2 separate regions of the Homo sapiens genome follow, and region 1 is linked to region 2. Evidence: promoter capture Hi-C in human tissues and cell types (Jung and others, 2019). All regions are on one chromosome and are shown on one strand. The core of a region is centred on a gene start or on the middle of the fragment in contact, and the rest is flanking DNA. Distances in the headings are between cores, read along the strand shown. Region 1 has its middle 34 kb from the start of UBXN8. Region 2 holds the start of PPP2CB (protein phosphatase 2 catalytic subunit beta).

Region 1 (3,765 bases), core at 695-3,194, 35 kb after region 2:
CTAACATTTTTTGTAGTGCAAGTTTGATGGTGATGAATTTTTTCAGCTTTTGTATGTCTTTAAAAGTATTTCTTTCATGTTCATGTGGGAAAGATCATTTTACTAGGTATAGGCCGAGCGCAATGGCTTATACCTGTAATCCAAACATCTTGGGAGGCAGAGGCAGGCTGATCACTTGAGGCCAGGAGTTCAAGACCAGCTGGGCCAACATGGTGAAAACCTGTCTCTACTAAAAATATAAAAATTAGCCGGGCATGGTGGCCTGCTAAACCCAGCTACTGGGAGGCTGAGGCACAAGAATCACTTGAACCCAGGAGGCAGAGGTTGCAATGAGCTGAGATCACACCACTGCACCCCAGCCTGGGCAACTCTGACTCAAAAAAAAAAAATTTTTTTTAAAGATCATTTTACTAGGTATAGAATTCTATCATTACCCATGGAATCACAGCCCATTAGCCTGCAATTCCACTAATTTAAGCTTGACTGCTGTCACCTTGTGCTTAGGTGCTGGGTTTTTCTCGGGCGCTCCTGCTCCCCATTCAGCAATCCTTTCACGCCTGCATACGAGGGAGGTCCTTCTCCATGCCCTCACCCCTTCCCCAGTTGGAGACTGCTGCTGTGTATCACTCAGTGCTGGGCTCATGGTAGGAGCAGGTGAGGTTCTCTGTTGTCCCAATTCAGCCTCAATCTTGGGCTGGCTCTTTGTGCTATGTTTTTGTTTTTCTCTTTTGAGATGGAGTCTTGCTCTGTCACCCAGGCTGGAATGCAGTGGCGCAATCTCGGCTCACTGCAACCTCCGCATGAAACCTCCGGGTTCAAGCAATTCTCCTGCCTCAGCCTCCCGAGTTGCTGGGATTACAGGCGCGCGCCACCATGCCTAGCTAATTTTTGTGTTTTTAGTAGAGACTGGGTTTCACCGTGTTGGCCAGGCTGGTCACAAACTCCTGACCTCAGGTGATCCACCCGCCTCAACCTCCCAAAGTGCCATGATTACAGGCATGAGCCACCGCACCCAGCCTGTGCTTTGGTTTTCAAGGTGAGGTTTTTCTAAGCATTCTTGCTCCTTCTACCTGTGGCTGCCAAACTTCTCCTTGTGTCCATGGTTGGCGTAGGGTGGGAGTTTTCGGCCCCATTCCTAGCAAGACTAGACATCTGTTTGATATCTGTATCCACCCTTCCCTCCAAGGTAGAGAATTTTTGCCTCGACCTTCTGCCAGCAGCAATAATCTTTGCCTGAGTCCTGGGAGAAGCAGATGGGTTTTGTTTTGGTTTTGTTTTGTTTTGTCTGCCTCTGTTCCTTCTCCAGAGACAATAGATCTGCCAGTTCCTGGCAGGCCATAGTACTTGCTGTACTTTCCCCAGCAGGTTAAGACCTTGGCTTGGTAGGAGAGGAGGGTCTGGGGAAGCCAGTGGAGCTTTGCGCTTGTTCCCCTACAGCCGCCAGTCACTCATTGTTTGCTCTGAGGTTGGCTTTCTCTGGTCTCCTGCCCTGTCTCAGTCCTCCTGAACACCTAGTGAAGGGTGAGGAGGAAGAACTTTCTAGAGAATGGGCACTCCCTTTGTGTCTGAAGCCCCCAGCCAGGACTGGCTTCATGGCATGGTACCTGTGCAGGGCCCCACACTTAGAAGGGCTTCATGTTTGGTTTACTGCATTGCTGTCGCCTATCGCCATCTTGAACTTCTTCACTTTTGAGTAAGGGTTCCCACATTTTCATTTTGCACTAAGGCCCACAAATTAAATAGCCCGTCTGGTTCCAAACTGATGCAGTAGCCCATGCGTGACCTTTACGAACATCAAAATCTTAGCTTGTATAGCAGCTGCCTTTTCTCCCGTGTTTTGCCAAAGGGAAGACAGTTTCTGTGTCCCGTCTCTCCTTGGAGAGGGTTATCTCTTTTTGGAATTCAGTTTACATAATTGCTTTGCAGCCTCAGCTCACTGTGGGCTCAAAAATGTTATGATTTTGTGTATCATCCAGCTGTTTCTTTTCCTTTTCTTTTTTTTTCTTGAGACAAGGTCTCAGTATATTGCCGAGGCTAGTCTTGAACTCCTAGGCTCAGTGATCCCCCCACCTCAGCCTCCCAAGTAGCTGGGACCACAGGCATGCAGGCACCATGCACCCAGCTAGATCCAGCTGTTTCTTGTTGCTAGGGTGAGAGCAGCATTCTTTACAGATCTCTGTGTCCTAAGTGGAAGTCTAAATAAGCCATATGATTTAGAGCTTGTTATTTTTAGAATCTCAATTTCAGCTAGCAGAGCAATTACCTGACTAAAGCTTTTTCCCTCCCTTTAAAGGGAAATTTCACACTTTTTAATTTAAATATTTCCTTCAGAAAAATGTCACTTTATTTTCTTTTATCCCCACAACAACAAAACCCCTTAGTGTCACGGTCACAGTAGAACAACCTAGAATGACTTTATATTGTCTTTTGATAATAGCTACTGTATAATTAAGCTCAAATGAGCAGAGCTCCCATATCAATCCATGATAGTGAGGAAGAGCGTTTACAAAGTGAAATACAGAGATGAAGAGTAATAAAATGAGGGCAAATTCTCTAAATAAGACCATGTAGGACCAAGTGTGGTATCTCACGCCTGTTATCTCAGCACTTTTGGAGGCCGAGGCGGTAGGATCACCTGAGTCCAGGAGTTAGAGACCAGCCTGGGCAACATAGTGAGACCCGATCTCTACAAAAATAAAAAATAATTAGCTGGGCATGGTAGCACGCACCTGTGGTCAGTCCTCAGCTACTCAGGAGGCTGAAGCAGGAGGATCAATTGAGCCCAGGAGGTCGAGGCTCCAATGAGCTGAGATCGGGCCACTGTATTCCAGCCTGGGCAACATAGTGAGACCCTGTCTCTACAAAAATATTTAAAAATTAGTCAGGCATTGGTACTTTGAGGTTTTGTAATGAAAAAAAAAGCTAAAGATAAAAAATGAAAAATAAATAAAATAAAAATTATCCAGGCATGGGAGGCAGATCAGCAGCAGTGGAGGGTCCTGGGTGGTGCAGCCTGCACCAGTGTGGGGTCACTCCTGAGGGCCGCACCTCGCGGGGGCACTGGGGTTGCCGGTAATGTCATTGGGAGCATAGTCCCAAGGCCCTTCTCCTCCTGGTCTCAGCCTCCTCCACCTCTCCTGGGCCATCGGGTTTTGTCATGTTGGAAACAAGGTCTGAACTGAGGCCAGTTAACTAAGATCAAGGTACAAGGCCTATTTTGCAAGGAATAGCAATATGCCCCCTTCAAAGATGACAGCTGGCCACAGGACTAAGCTTGGCAACAAGATGTGAGTGGAAGCTCCCAAAGCTCTCTAAAGAGGCCTCCTCTTCTCTGCTTCTTGGAGTGTGGACAGGATAGCTGGAATCCTAGCATCCAGTTTTGAATACCAGGTGACCTTGAAGATGAAAGCCATGAACTGAGACAATGTCCTTATCAGATTTTTATTTTTTGTTTGTTTGTTTTGAGATGGAGTCTCACTTTGTCACCCAGGCTGGAGTGCAGTGGCGCGATGTCAGCTCACTGCAACCCCCATCTCCCAAGTTCAAGCGATTCCGGTATCTCCACCTCCCAAGTAGCTGGGATTATAGGCGCAAGCCACCATGCCCGGCTGTTTGTGTTCGTGTTTTTTTTTTTTTCTTTTTTTAGCAGAGATGGGGTTTCGCCATGTTAACCAGCCTGGTCTCGAACTCCTGACCTCGAGTGATCTGTCCACCTCAGCCTCCCAAAGTGCTGGGATTACAGGCGTGAGTCACCACCCAGCTCCT
Region 2 (4,032 bases), core at 817-3,316:
AGCTCTTCCAGCCTTATTTCCAACAATATAATCTATTTCTGTTGCTAGGAGAATTTATAGCTTTCCAAACAGACAATGAATGGTCTTTCACTCATTTGTCTACTGGCACACGCACAAAAAAATTCCTTAGACCTTCTTTCCTCTTCTCCAGGCAACTTCAAGCTTTTGCCTTGAGAGAAGGTTGAAAATTCAGTTCAATTACCGCTTTTCTAAAGCTTTCTGTAATTGTTCCCTAGGAGGGGTAAGGCAACTAACATATCGCTCCCATACCGTACTATTGGGCAGGCACTTTTAAAACTTAATCTTCACAAAGGTAGGCCTTTTATTGATTTTAACAGATGAAGAATTTGAGGCTTACGGAGGTTTGATGATTGCCCAAGGACATAGCTAGGGGGTTAGCAAACACAAGAACCCTTGCTTTCTGATACAGGATGTTACCTTCCACTTGGGTTCAGCCGCAGTAGTATGTACCTTTAATAGACACAGTATGATCATTTAGCACATGCTATTCAAGGTATCTGGCAGCTAGCAGCTGCTCATGTTACCTAACTGAATTTAGGTCCTCCCTCAAGTACGGCAAAGCCAAACACTGACATTGGGGTTTGTAGTGAAAGTGAGGCATTTATTGCATTGCACCAAGCAAGAAGAATCAGGCAGCTCATGCTTAAGACCCCAACTCCCTGATGGTTTACAGGTAAGGGGTTTTTTGTGTGCTTTTTTTTTTTTTTTTGAAACAGAGTTTCACTCTTGTCACCCATGCTGGAGTGCAATGGCGAGATTTCGGCTCACTGCAACCTCCACCTCCCGATTTCAAGTGATTCATCTGCCTCAGCCTCCCAAGTAGCCGGGATTACAGGCGCCCACCACCATGCCCAGCTAGTTTTTGTATTTTTAGTAGAGAAGGGGTTTCACCATGTTGGCAGGCTGGTCTCCAACTCCTGGCCTCGGCCTCCCAAAGTGCTGGGATTACAGGCATGAGCCACTGCGCCCAGCCCAGGTAAGGATTTTTAAAGGCAGGGAGGCAGAGGTTACAGGCAAAGTCATAAATCAATACATGGAGGCTATACGTGGGTTTGATCTAAAAAGCCAGGATATCTGAAGCAGGGACCCACAGGTCATAGATGGATTCAAAGATTTTCTGATTTGCAATTGGTTAAGGAGGCAAAGCTTTGTGAATTCTTCCAGGCTCCTCAGGAAGAAATTTAGAACAAAGATAGGTAGTTTGAGATCTCCATGCCAGTGGACACCATTTTCCATTTGGTGAGGTCCAGGTTTCTGAAAAACAACTCAGGGACATATGTCGTCTTTAGTTTCTATAGGGAAGCAAACATTTTGTGAATCTAACGTCCTTGGCTACTGTCTTAAGCTATTATTACCTTCTTGCTTATCAGGTTGCTCATTGACTTATTGAGGAAGTTAGGTGCCTGGAATGTCCCTTCAGGGAACTCAAGATTTTCCTTTATTTCCATGCTTGGGGAGGGGGGTGCCTAGATGGCCCCTAAGAGGGGTCCCTGTTCTGTCTCTCAATAAATATTTGTTGAATGAACAAATCATTACAACTCAGTACACATTGCAGAAAATATAGCCAAGAGCTCTGGAGCTGGAAGGGCCACAGATTATCCTACAGAACAATCATTTCACTTTTCTAATGTCGAAAGGGAGGATTCGAGATGTTAGGGGCTACAGGTGAGGCTGGAAATAATTAATTTACTCCATCAATATTGAATGCCTGCTATTGAGTGCTAGACTCTGGGGAGACAATGTTAAGGGAAGCCCAAGTTTTCCAACTCCCTGTCCAGAGCGCTGCAAAGTACTGCAGGAAGCTAAAGTGAGGACAAAGTTCCCAGAGATCAGGATATTTAAAGGGAGAACCAGCAGAGCTTGGTCTGGGGCAGGGTGGGGAAAAGAGGGACCCTGGCCTCCTCGGACCGTTTCTCCGCCAAGCCACGCGAGGGCGCTGTTCTGCTCCTAGGGCGCCGTGTCCCGGCGGCGCCGCCTGCTCGCCTTTTCCCGGCGGAAATGCCCGAGCGATGACGGAAACCCGGAGGGAGGGGAGAGAAAGAGCGAGAGAAGGGGAAAGACAAGTCGGGAGAGGCCGGTAGGCGTGAGGCGGGCCTGAAGCGGCAGCGGGCGGCCTTCGTCCGGCGAGAGCTAGGCCGAGGACCCGCGCCGCGCTCCCCGGCACCTCACCGCGTCCTTCACCGACTCCCGCGGCGCGCGGCCGGGCGGGGAAGGGCGGGCGGGGGTCTCCTCCAGGCTGCGCGCTCGGAGCCGCCTGCTGGGCTTGGGCGGGGCGCGGGGCCCGCGGCCGCCCTACCCGGCTCAGTCCTCCCCCTGTGGGACCTGGCGACGGCGGCGGAGGGAGAGGGGAGCGGCGCCCGGGCCGGGGCCGGGGGCGGGTGGGGAGGGGGGAGGGCGGCGGCCGGGCTGGGGCTCGGGATCCGCATCGGGATCGGGCCGCCATGGACGACAAGGCGTTCACCAAGGAGCTGGACCAGTGGGTCGAGCAGCTGAACGAGTGTAAGCAGCTGAACGAGAACCAAGTGCGGACGCTGTGCGAGAAGGTGAGGGCGCCGCGGGGGCGAGTGCGGGAGCGCGGGGCTGGGACGGGCCGCCGCTTTCCTGCCCGCCCCGGTCCCGTCCGCCCCTGGCCCGGCGCGGCCCACCGGGGGCCTGCGGGGCTGTGGGTCCGGCTCCGGCGTCCACCTAGGCGGCCGGCCCATCGGTTCAGGGCCCGGGGCGTTGGGCTGCCCTCGCCTGCCCCTTCCACCTCCGCCTCACGCCCCCGGCCGGCTGCCCAGATCCCGGGCGTGGGGGGCTCGGGTGCGGACGGGCGGGGAAACGTAGCCCCCTGAGCCAAGCAGGAGGTTGGTCGGGGTCGCCTGCGCTCCACTGGGGAGTTCCTGCCACTCTAGCATTTCCCGAGTGGACTAGCGAGAGCGACGTCCGAAAAGGACCATTTTCAGACCAGTTTCTGAAAATGCAACTAAAATTAACCAGAATGTCGTGCGTATTAATGAACTTGTTAATAAATGCAGAATTTTTGTCAGGTGAACGGGGCACCTCAGAAATCACTAACTCAAGCCGGGCGTGGTGGCTCACGCCTGTGGCCACAGCTACTCGGGAGGCTGAAGCGGGAGGATTGCTTGAGCCCAGGAGTTAGAGACCAGCCTGGGCAACATAGTGAGGCCCCGTCTCCACACACAAAAAATTTTTTTTAATTAGCAGGGTGTGACGGCGGGTGCCTGTAATCCCAGCTATTCGGGAGGCTGAGGCGGGAGGATCGCTTGAGCCCAGGAGGTGGAGGCTGGTTGCAGTGAGTCGAGATCGCGCCACTGCACTCCAGCCTGGGCGACAGCAAAAAAAAAAAAAAAAAAATCGCTGATTCTTGAATGTGCCAAGCGTTTGTTTGCGGAGAGGTAGGCGTGATGGCCAACTGTGATTTTTAAAATAGAGGTTGACTTTGGTGGAAACAGATGGTGACTGGTCTTTGTGTTGAGTGGCTCTTGGAAGTAAAGTGTTGATTTTCAGAAACGAGAGCCGATCTTAAGTTTGGGAACAGTGTTTGCTGGAAATGATAAGTGGGATGTGTGTTTTCATGCACGATAGCACTTTGCAGAAAGTTATTTTTGTTTTTAATATATATAAAGTTTTTTTCCAAAGAATAATAAAACATGCGGGTGATCAGTTCGTTCTTGTACATCGTGAGTGTGTGATCTTCACTTTGTAAATTCTGTATCCATTGTTTTCTTAACCCCTGAAATTATTTCGATCTCTCCATCTTTGAAGTCTAGAGTTGTCCACATTCATCCTTTACAAGGTGGACTAAATAATTTTCATGTATTTTTAGGTTAAAAATTCTCACTTGAAGTGCATGAAGAAGTAACGATGTTATTTTAAAACGTAATCTATAAAATTTTCTTAACCGTAATGTTTAGAAGTCATGATGTGGCAGAAGTGCACTGGAGAAGGAAAGATTTTGTTAGTCTGATTTTAGGGTACTCTTAAGATCATGAAATTTACTTAGAAAAG

Evidence for each region. Contacts are between HindIII fragments. The study calls those that stand out against the background at their distance.
Region 1: a fragment that was not itself captured here is called in contact with the fragment with the promoter of PPP2CB in region 2 in 3 of the 25 tissues and cell types used here (ovary, pancreas and psoas muscle).

The regions. Positions count from the first base shown.
Region 1 is chr8:30,775,909-30,779,673 of GRCh38, reverse strand. No RefSeq gene overlaps it. Among named protein-coding and RNA genes, the nearest start is that of UBXN8, 34 kb to the right of the region's middle. The HindIII fragment of the contact is 4,438 bases long and covers 1-3,765 here.
Region 2 is chr8:30,810,852-30,814,883 of GRCh38, reverse strand. PPP2CB (protein phosphatase 2 catalytic subunit beta) reads left to right here and starts at 2,066. Exons shown (of 7, transcript NM_001009552.2): 1 at 2,066-2,564. The coding sequence starts at 2,463. RefSeq lists silencers at 2,193-2,412, 2,443-2,502, 2,583-2,692, 2,753-2,812. The HindIII fragment of the contact is 3,135 bases long and covers 1-2,991 here.